Linked DNA regions of Homo sapiens: region 1 is linked to region 2. The links are contacts of gene promoters, found by promoter capture Hi-C in human tissues and cell types (Jung and others, 2019). All regions are on one chromosome and are shown on one strand. The core of a region is centred on a gene start or on the middle of the fragment in contact, and the rest is flanking DNA. Distances in the headings are between cores, read along the strand shown. Region 1 overlaps ADAMTS18 (ADAM metallopeptidase with thrombospondin type 1 motif 18). Region 2 holds the start of ADAMTS18 (ADAM metallopeptidase with thrombospondin type 1 motif 18).

The links. The method cuts DNA at HindIII sites, captures the fragments that hold promoters and counts their contacts. A contact is called where the count stands out against the background at its distance.
Region 1: a fragment that was not itself captured here is called in contact with the fragment with the promoter of ADAMTS18 in region 2 in 2 of the 25 tissues and cell types used here (adrenal gland and mesendoderm cells).

What each region holds. Positions count from the first base shown.
Region 1 is chr16:77,379,935-77,384,927 of GRCh38, reverse strand. All of the region lies in intron 3 of ADAMTS18 (ADAM metallopeptidase with thrombospondin type 1 motif 18), which reads left to right. Among named protein-coding and RNA genes, the nearest start is that of ADAMTS18, 53 kb to the left of the region's middle. The HindIII fragment of the contact is 5,751 bases long and covers 1-4,993 here.
Region 2 is chr16:77,433,581-77,438,987 of GRCh38, reverse strand. ADAMTS18 (ADAM metallopeptidase with thrombospondin type 1 motif 18) reads left to right here and starts at 3,954. Exons shown (of 23, transcript NM_199355.4): 1 at 3,954-4,382; 2 at 4,483-4,570. The coding sequence starts at 4,293. RefSeq lists an enhancer at 3,758-4,258. The HindIII fragment of the contact is 10,424 bases long and covers 1-5,407 here.

The DNA of each region.
Region 1 (4,993 bases), core at 1,164-3,663, 53 kb after region 2:
AGAAAAAAAAAAAAAAACCTTATCTGAACTGATTTGTTATGGGGAGGTTAGATTTAAATATTTTGATAACTATATATGAAATGTTGAGATTTTTTAAAAAAATCTGAAGCAAAAATGGTATCAGAAGAAGAGCTGATGAACTGGATGTTAGATAATGTAGCTTACTATATACGTTTCTCTTCTTGTCTAAATTTTTGTCATATTTCACAGTAATGCCAGGCAGAATATAAAGGGTTAAATTAGTACAATCTTCACTGCTACAGGCAGTAGAAATGCCCCATAAGTTGGGTGTTAGCCAGGGTTTTCTATAACGTACATTGGTTTTTATGGCTTTTCCATTCAAAACCTTCAGACGTTCCCCAATGTACAGAAGTTCAAACACTACCCTCAGAGATGGTCTGCCCTAACTTTGTCCTCTTAGAGAATTTTGCATATTCCCCTATTCAGTCAGTATGATTTGAGTGTCACGCCAGTACCTTCTGAGTTCTAAGGGCACAAAATCAAATACAACATCAACTCTGCTTTGCCAGGGATTTATGTTACAGGGAAAGAGAGAGAAACTAGAGAAATAATTGTTTCCTTGATATGTGCTGTGAATGGTATGGAAGCCTACGAGGGGGCTGTGTAAATCAGAATGGTGAAATGGGAAAAGGATATAATGTTTCTGATTAATTGGATGTGTTTAGCTCCAGAAGTAGAGGAGTTTCTTAAATGTAGACGTTGAAGTCTTGCTTGTTTTTATGTCTCCCTTAGCACCATACATATTGCTTTATTTTTAGTTGATTAATACCAAAAATATTTACAGAGCTCCTACCAGCTGCCAAACAATGGACATAGGGAAGTCGGCAGAACAGGCACAAAGTCCCAGCCTTTAAGGAGCTAATAGGAGGGATGAACAGTAAACACAGAAGGAAACAGCTGCGTGTGGCACTCTCATGTCATGATAAAGGCTGTTATGGGGGAAAAAAGGCTGACTGAGAAAATGACAAGGTTGGCTTTGTTTCATTTGAAAGGATGCTTTGAACAGGTGACCTTTGAAGCATCCTATTGAAACAAAGCCAACCTTGTTTCCCCAGTCAGCTTTTTGGGCCAGGCACGGTGGCTCCGGTCTATAATCCCAGCGCTTTGGGAGGTCAAGGAGGGCGGATCACGATGTCAGGAGTTCAAGACCAGCCTGACCAAGATGGTGAAACCCCATCTCTACTAAAGTCACAAAAATTAGCCAGGCGTGGTGGTGGGTGCCTGTAATCCCAGCTACTTGGGAGGCTGAGGCAGATAATTGCTTGAACCTGGGAGGTGGAGGTTGCAGTGAGCTGAGATTGCGCCACTGCAATCCAGCCTGGGTGACAGAGGGAGACTCTGTCTCCAACAACAACAACAAAAAAGAGGTCGCCTTTGGACAAAAACCTACATGAAGTGAGATATCTAGGGGAAGAGCATTCTAGGCACAGGAAACAGCAAATGAAAAAAATCTGAGATGGGAACTTGGCTTTTTTATTTATAGAACAGCAATGGAGTGAATGTAGCTGGAATTCAGTTAAAAGAAAAAATAAGAGGTAGAAGATGCTAGAGAAGCTACTAGATGCTGCATTTGGATTGGACGGGGCTGCAAAGTGTCTTGAAATCCATTTCTCTTGGTCAAGAATTCATCTTGTAGTGATAGAGCATGATGGTGAATGACCCGTTAAAAGCGATGCTTTGGAAAAAACAACTCTGGAGCAAGGGAGAAGAGAGATTGTCAACAGGGAGAGGAGATAGGAGACCACTGCTAAGTCTAGGCTTGGGGCAATACATGACCAGACTGGAATGAGAACACAGGAGGGACAGAGAGAGGAGCTCAAGAGATTAGTTGTTCATCGCAATTTGTCAGTATTCTTAACTGCATAATGCCACATTCCATAGGATGTCAGTTTGGAGCAAAGAAGGATTGGAGGAGGGGAACACAACATTGGATCACAAAATTCACATTAAAGCACACAACTTACATGGATATGAGGTAGGATCTTCTCCTCCCAGACATTCAAGCCGCCGCTTTCCAAGGATGCTGACGTGTGAAGAGGAGTGTTATTAGCAGACCCAGCAGCAAAGCCTGGAATGATCCAGGGGGAAGGTTGGCTGCATGTTCCCATGTGAACTTCATGGAAAGTCTGGTTTCCATTAAATCGAGACATGCTAGCTGTCGTCTTGGTCATTCACAGTTCACCAACAGCCTTTGTGGCAGTCATGTGTTTTCCAAATGATAACCTTAAGCTTCCTTTGAAATGATCACATTCATAAGCATGGAGGAAAGAGGATTATGAGGCACAAGGGTGTCAAACAGCTTTCTTTCATCTTCCCTAGATTGAGAAAGTCTTCATGACCAAACCACTTGTAAAGGTCATGTAGCTTCAGTATCTGTCCTTTTAACTGGTTGTTAGGGGCCAGGCACGGTGGCTCACACCTGTAATCCCAGCACTTTGGGAGGCCGAGAGGGGCGGATCACGAGGTCAGGAGATCGAGACCATCCTGGCTAACACGGTGAAACCCCGTCTCTACTAAAAATACAAAAAATTAGCCAGGCGTGGTGGCGGGCGCCTGTAGTCCCAGCTACTCAGGAGGCTGAGGCAGGAGAATGGCATGAACCAGGGCAGCGGAGCTTGCAGTGAGCCGAGATCGCGCCACTGCACTCCAGCCTGGGCAACAGAGCGACTCTGTCTCAAAAAAACAAACAAACAAACAAACAAAAAACCAAAAACTGGTTGTTAGTGTGTATTTGGCTATCTCAGGGGCTGGGAAGATATGGTATCTTTTATTATTGTGGATATGTCTCTCCCAAATATATGTGGAGTATCTCTGGCATTCAGGATGTGGCGCGGCTGTTGCAAGGCAGAGTAGTCCAGTTCTGCCCTGAAAGTACGTAGAATATACCCCACAAAAGAGAGAATAAGAGCATTTCAGGGTGAAATCTGAACTAGATTGGTGATGACCAGTAAGGACACATTCCAGAGAACAATTGAGCCAGGTATGTCTGGATCCATGGGGGAAGCTTTCTCAGTGTCTCCACTAAACACAGGACTTTCTTTTTTCATACTTTTTGGTGTGAAAATTGAGAGGACTCTGATTTGTTTATTTATTATTTATTTTTTTGAGATGGAGTCTCGCTCTGTCACCCAGGGTGGACTGCAGTGGCATGATCTCGGCTCACTGCAACCTCCGCCTCCTGGGTTCAAGTGATTCCCCTGCCTCAGCCTCCTGAGTAGCTGGGATTACAGGCGTGCGTCACTACAGCTGGCTAATTTTTGTATTTTTAGTAGAGACGAGGTTTCACCATGTTGGTCAGGCTGGTCTCGAACTTCTGACCTCGTGATCCACCTGCCGCGGCCTCCCAAAGTGCTGGGATTACAGGCGTGAGCCACCCCACCCAGCCGACTCTCTGATTTTAATGCCACTTAACCTCAGCACTCACTTCTGAGAATGACCTGAGTTTACTTGCATCTCTTTGTTTTTCTGGTCCTTTTGAAGCAGGGAAAGGAACAGCAGGTACTTGGCGGGAGGCTAGGACCTTCTGCCATTATGCCAGCCCAAAACTGGTTTGTTGTTAAAGAGTCATACCTTCAGAGTCCAGCATTTCAGCTGTCCCCCACCCCCACCCTCTCTGGAACCTTTCCTGAATCTGAACAGAATGTGTGTTTTTTAAGAGTGTGGGCAGGCCATGGAGTCAGACAGCCCCCTGATATAGAAGTGTTAATAAAGTACCCATCAGGTAGAGCTGCAAGGCCAGGCATGGTGACTCACGCCTCTAATCCCAGCTCTGTTGGAGGCCAAGGCAGGCGGATTACCTGAGCCCAGGAGTTTGAGACCAGCCTGACCAACATGGTGAAACCCCGTCTCTACTAAAAATACAAAAATTCACCAGGCATGATGGCAGCACTTGTAATCCCAGCTACTCCGGAGGCGGAGGCAGGGAGGGTTGCTTGAACCCAGGAAGTGGAGGTTGCAGTGAGCTGATATCGTGTCACTGTACTCCAGCATGGGTGACAGAGCAAGACCCTGTCTCAATAAATAAAATAAAATATAAAATTAAAACAACAAAAAACAAATAGAGCTGCAGTGAGAGTCAGTTGAAATTCTGCAGATAAAATGCTATGTGCGGTGCCTGGTGCATAGGAACCACTGACCCCCAGATGGGTATGTTAAAGGAAGGCAGGGAGAATAAGAAGGAAGGGGCCATACCAACATCTGTTGATTATGATTAAACCACTGAGATTAATTTATAAATGCTGAAGCATAGGTTATGGCTGCTTATAAACTATATGCATTTTAACATTTTTACATTTAATTTTTTAATATTAAAATGTATGCAGTAGATGTTAAGAATATCAACCATTTTGCTATTAGTACATAGAGCTTAAAAAGAGTTTCTTAGAGGTACATACTCTTTTGAGAATGGGCACAGGCATAACTTGGACAGAATCTGCTTATACTTTCCAAACCAATACAGAGTTTTGAATACAGCCATGACGCTGTATTCTGGTCTCATGGGATTTGAGCTGTTGAAGTCATTAAGTGTTTATTTCAGTAGAGATTATAATTAGCTAAATCAATTTTCATCAATATGTTATTAATATCTATTAAGAGCTGCTAGATGACATTTACATCCGTACAGACGGTTATAGTTGAAGGGCTTTGAAGACAGAGACTGAATCTGTTAATCTTTGTGTCAGGAGCATAAACCACTGCATATAGTCAAAGTCATGTTAGTTAATGTTGTTCTGGAGCCCCAGTGGGTTAGTGAGTAAAGTGAAAGGATAATTCATTTTGAGCCTATTGGAGTATTTGAAGTAGCTGAACATCCCAGGTGAGGGAAGAGAAGAAAGCCAAGCATTTCTGAGGACCTCGGCAGCAAGACTTTTGGAACCTTTTTTCTAGTCTACCGTTATCAGCATGACTCAGAAAGTCACAGAGACTGAGAGTGCATAGACACTGCATGCCAAGATTGGAGATCAGGATTACT
Region 2 (5,407 bases), core at 2,705-5,204:
GCCCTTAGGTCTTAGGCCTTCAAGGAGGTAAATCCATTTCCATCTCTCTCTTTTCCTTTTGGCTACTGTGTTGAAATAAGTTAAGCCTTGTGTTCTATTTTACCCTCTTCTAGGTTTAGATGTGTGACTATGGACATCTATCTCTTTGGACATCAAAATGTTTTCTACAGGAAAGTACTGGACACCCGTTCAGTAAGACCCAGCCCACTGTTTGATGCAGCTTTGAGCAGCTAGAGGAGGAAGAGTTTCCCTCTACTCGCTGACGGAAAAGGAGAGGAGCAAATAAGGAGTTAGTCAGTCATAGCACAGAAAGTCAACTGCACCGGAAGAGGCAGTAAGTGTTTCTTACTTTCCATGGAAGGGATGTTTGCATCTTCATGAATCCAGGGACAAAGGAAAGTGAGTAAGCAACGTGGTTTGCCATTTATTTTTTGATCTGTCTAGGAGGAGGCAAGTATCTTAATGTTATTTGGCAAAAAAAATAAAAATAAAAATAAAAATAAAAAAATAAAAAAGCTTATGTCAGTAGAAAAAGAAAATCAATGCCTAGAACTGTACCATTGATTTTAAAGGAAGAGAAAGGAGGAATATTTTTCGTGGTTAAGAGTGAAACACTGTGATCTCTCTATCTCAAATTTCCCCCCATTCCTCCCTCCCTCCCTCCCTCCCTCTGCTCCTCTTACAAACATTTATGAATGTCTGTTACGTGGCATATTCTGGGCTACGTCTGACAGAATACAACACATCAGCGATGAGCTCTGCCCCCCCATATCCCCATTAGTTTATTGCAAACTTCAGATAGCCATTGTAGTGTCCTAGATTTATCATTTTAAAATCAGGTAAGACTGACATTCCCAAGTAACTTAAAAGCTACTTTGCAGTTTATAACTCCAAGACTGGAGCATGGGCTCATGATTCTCTGTCACCATCTAGAGACAATTTATACATATTGCAGGGCCAGTTCCTGGAAAACTACGTATAAAATCATCCCAGAAGTTATGGCTTTGCAAGTATTTATCAGCCCTAAAAAAGAGACTAGACATCTACAAATGAATGGAACTGCAAGTTTTTATCTTCCAGGTCTAGAACTATGCAAGAAATGAGTCTCAGTTTCTGTGCCCAATCATGGAGGACTTGAATCTGTGGAGAGCAAAGATTGACTGGGGTATGGAAGAAGAGCTGTAAAATCAGTTAAGGATAAACTACTTACATTAGGTTCAAGAGGAGCCCTCTAGACTCTCAAAAAAAAATGGGCACTCAACAAAAAAATGTCACAGAATAGGACTGGGAATCTGTACTATTTATCCAGGTTCTCACCTAGGGGAATTTTACCCACCAGGAAACATTTGGAAATCTCACAACATTTTGTTGCATTTTGGGGGCTGCTACTGGCATTTAGTGAAGTAGAGGCCAGAAATGCTGCTAAACATCCTATGTTTATAATGTACAGGATGATAGCCCCTACCACAAATGATTATCCAGCCCAAATCTCAGTACTGCTGAGATTGAGAAATTCCACAATTGAGCATAGAGCATAGTTAAGGGTTGTTCTCCGAGACTTCAGCCCTGACCATGGCAAGTAACCTATATTGTTAGCCCTAAAAGAGGAGGATCAGAAAAATATGGACAATTTCATGCAAATGTATCTTAATGGAGAGACACAAATCAGGGCCATGGTTATTTTTAGCTGAGTGTGGACAAGCCCTTCACCCTCCAGGTTCCGTCAGTGTTCACCTGATGATGTCGCTGACAGTGCTGTCAATCCCAGTCTCCTGTTTTATTCAGTCCGTTGCTTGGTGATGTGACCTCCAGCAGTGTTTTACTGCATGTCTTTGATGTCCAGTTTCCTCTTGTGTCCAGTTCTTCATGGAATCATATGAAGCACTTAAGTCACTTGTGTCTGAATCACCCACAAGTGCTTACTACAAATGCATGCTTGGGCCCTACACCAAATCCATGGAATCAGAATCACAGTGCTTCATGGCCTGGAAATCTGCATTTTTAAGCTAGCATTACAGGTGATTTTGACGTATATTCAAGTTTGACACAGGATGTATGAAATAACAGAAATACACCATCACTTCTTAAAGTCCACTTATAATGTGCTTTGAAAAATATATTCACTTACCCCTCAGGCTATCCTTTTGATGTAGCATGTTGATTCCTATTTTACAGATTATAAAACAGAGGCCACAGAGCTTAACCAGATTAAGTAGGGAAACCCAAATGATTTGTTTAGCCCTGATGTTCTGTGAGGCTTAGCTTCATGTTCCTTAGGCAGACACATCACCTTCTCTGCCGCTACAGCCTGGGTTTACCTCTTCCCAGCTGCATTCCATAAAACCGACTATGTGTATTGAGCTATCACTTAATCGAGGCTTGACATAGACCTCATGTTAACTACTTCAGTACCCACAGGACTGAGCAGAGTAATACATCTACTTCCACTACCACTACCCTGGTCCAAGCAAGACACTGTCATTGTACCCCTTCATGCCAGCAACAGCTGCGTGGTTTGTTTCTCTCTGACCCTGCCTCAGCTCGTCCAATCCCTACACTCGCTCAAAAAATGGTTCACATTTTTTTATTATTGGATATGATGTTGCCTCCTACACATACACAAACCCACATTCATTTAAATCTAATGGTTTCCAACATGCTTCGCCCCAGCTTACAAGGTCCAGCTGACCCAGCAACTGCTGTGTTTGCTTCTTCCTCTGGCCTGTAACACTTTTCACGTGGCAATCACTTAACTACCTTGAGACCTTCACTTATGCTGTGCCCCCTGTCCTAACATGCAAGATCCTACTCCCCTCTTCCCTTATAAAACCGATCCACTCTCTCTGGCCTTATTTTAAGTGTCAGCTCCTAACAGATGCCTTGCACGTGTATGTATGCGTGTGTGTGTGTATATATATGTGTGTGTGTATATATACACCCACACACACACACACACACACACACACACACACACATCTTATCCCATCTAAATTAGATTCTGCTGCCATCTAATTTAGGAGACTATTCTTTTCCTTTTTAGTATTTGTGTTCATTTTGCTTCTATTACCGTTGTCGAGCTATCCAATCAGATTCGTTTCCACTGGCCCGTGAGACTGTATTTTGTTCACCTCTGCAAACAGGGATCAAAGGATCAAATAAATGTCTTGAGTAAACGAACAGGCACACAGCAAACTGGATGCACATTCCTAGTGATGGCGTGCGCTGTTTGTTATAACTGATTTCTGTGGGTTTGGGTATCTGGGGCCAAGATTCAATCTCGAAGAGTGGGAAGCACGGTCACGTCAAGAAGAGAGAGAGAGATCCGGGAGAAGAGGGAGGCCCCCGCGTGCCATGAGTTTTTACATGCTGCAGACAGTGACAGCTCATTGTTCTGGTCCTCCCGGCTGCCTCAGATTTGCTGACTCTGGGAAGCTAGGTCAGCTTGTGCGCATCTGAGCCTCCTTTTCCTCATCTTTATCAAGGAATTAATAATTCCCACCTGAAAAAGGTAGGGCCTGAGGCAAATGCGATACAGCAGGGGATAGCTCCCAGCACTTAGGAGGTGTTGAGGACGCTATCTTGACTCTTTGCCAGAAGAGTTGAAAATGAGAAGTCTGCACAGGCAGCGAAAAAGTCGCGCCACTCACCTGAGCCTTTCGTCTTCCGAACTCATCTCCCAGTGCGCTTAAATTACGTTTTCCAAGCCTGACCCTGGGCGCTCCCCTCCTTCTCATGGCGGTCGGTCCCTCCCTCCCTATCACTCCCACCCAGCCTCCCCGCCCCCTTCGCCCCCTCCCTCAGAGCTGGAGCCGGGAATCCCACGCCCTTGCACCAGCCCGGGGGCTCGGACGAGCCCGGGAGCCGCTGGTCGCCAATCACCGCGCGGTGGAGAGGCGGGCGCTCGGCTCCGGCGCGCTGGGGGAGCCAGCTGGCGCTGTCTTCCCCATCGCCTCAGACGCTCACACCGACACAGACAGACGCACAGACGGGCGGGCAGACACCGACAGTCTCCCAACCGTTTGCGCTCCAGTCCCGGCCCAGGGAGCCCCCCGTACCCTCTGGGGTGCCGCAAACTGCAGCTCGGCAGGCCCGCGCCGGGAGAAGGGAGGGCGCGCAGGCGGCCGGAGGAGGGGAGGTCCCAGCGCGCCCCCGCTGCGATGTGAACGGCGGCGGCTCTCACCTGGAGCCGCACCTGGGGCGCCGAGCTCCGGGGCCGCGGAAAGAATGCGCGCCGCCCGTGCGCTCCGCCTGCCGCGTCTGGCCACCCGCAGCCGCCGCGTCCGCACCTGACCATGGAGTGCGCCCTCCTGCTCGCGTGTGCCTTCCCGGCTGCGGGTTCGGGCCCGCCGAGGGGCCTGGCGGGACTGGGGCGCGTGGCCAAGGCAGGTGCCGCCGAGCGGAGCTCCGAGAGCGGGTGGCAGGGGGCGCCCGACGCCAGCCCCGCCGCGCCCCTCACGCGCGATGTCACCTTTTCTCTTGCAGGCGCTCCAGCTGTGCTGCCTCTGCTGTGCGTCGGTCGCCGCGGCCTTAGCCAGTGACAGCAGCAGCGGCGCCAGCGGATTAAATGATGGTTCGTATTTGCCCCCCATCCCCAAGAAGGGCCTTTCGCAGCACTTTGACCCTTCCTTCCCCCAAAGAGAGAAAAGATGGAAAAGCGCACCCCCTAACCTGGCAGGTGTGCGCTGTCTTGGAAATGGTTCCTGTTTGGAGAGGGGGGAAGGTTGGCAAGGACTGAACTTATCAAAAGAATCAACGCCCCGAGCTGCAAGTCACATAAAAGCAAATACTCTCCCTCCTTCACAGGTGGCTTGTTAAGAAGAACAAGAAAAAAAAAAAAATCCTAACTGCAGTGAGAAATTCGAAGGGAAGTGGACATTAACTAAGGAATTACTTATTTCCTCCCTCTCCTAACTCTTGTTGGGGGAAGCTAATTCTTAGTGGGAGATGAAAGAATGTGAGCCTCTTTCCTCTCTCCATCTTTCCTCATTTTTCTCTCGACTTCTGTTCCTTTTCTATCTCTTCTTTTTTTTTCATTTCTGCTTCCCTTGTTTTACGGATGTCTAAGGCTGCTTTTAGAGAGAGGAAAGCAGGTGACTTCAGGTCTCTGAGTCCTTTATCTATCTTTTCTGACGTTCGCCAGCCACAAACTTCCAGAAAATCCCTCACTTCTGACATTTATTAACTTCCCAGTGGAGCCCAGAGGGAAATCCTTGTTTTGATTGTTTCCCATCAGCTACAGGAGAACAGCTGATTCCTGACGCAAGGTGTCTAGGAAAACCTTACAGCTCAACCTGGATTCTTTAGAATTCTGTAATTTTTAGTTTTGCAAGGTTATCTCCTTTTCTTGTCAGGGGAATGGGGAGTGGGGCAGGATGGAGTCATGGAGAAGGGATTCACCTTTTGTCCA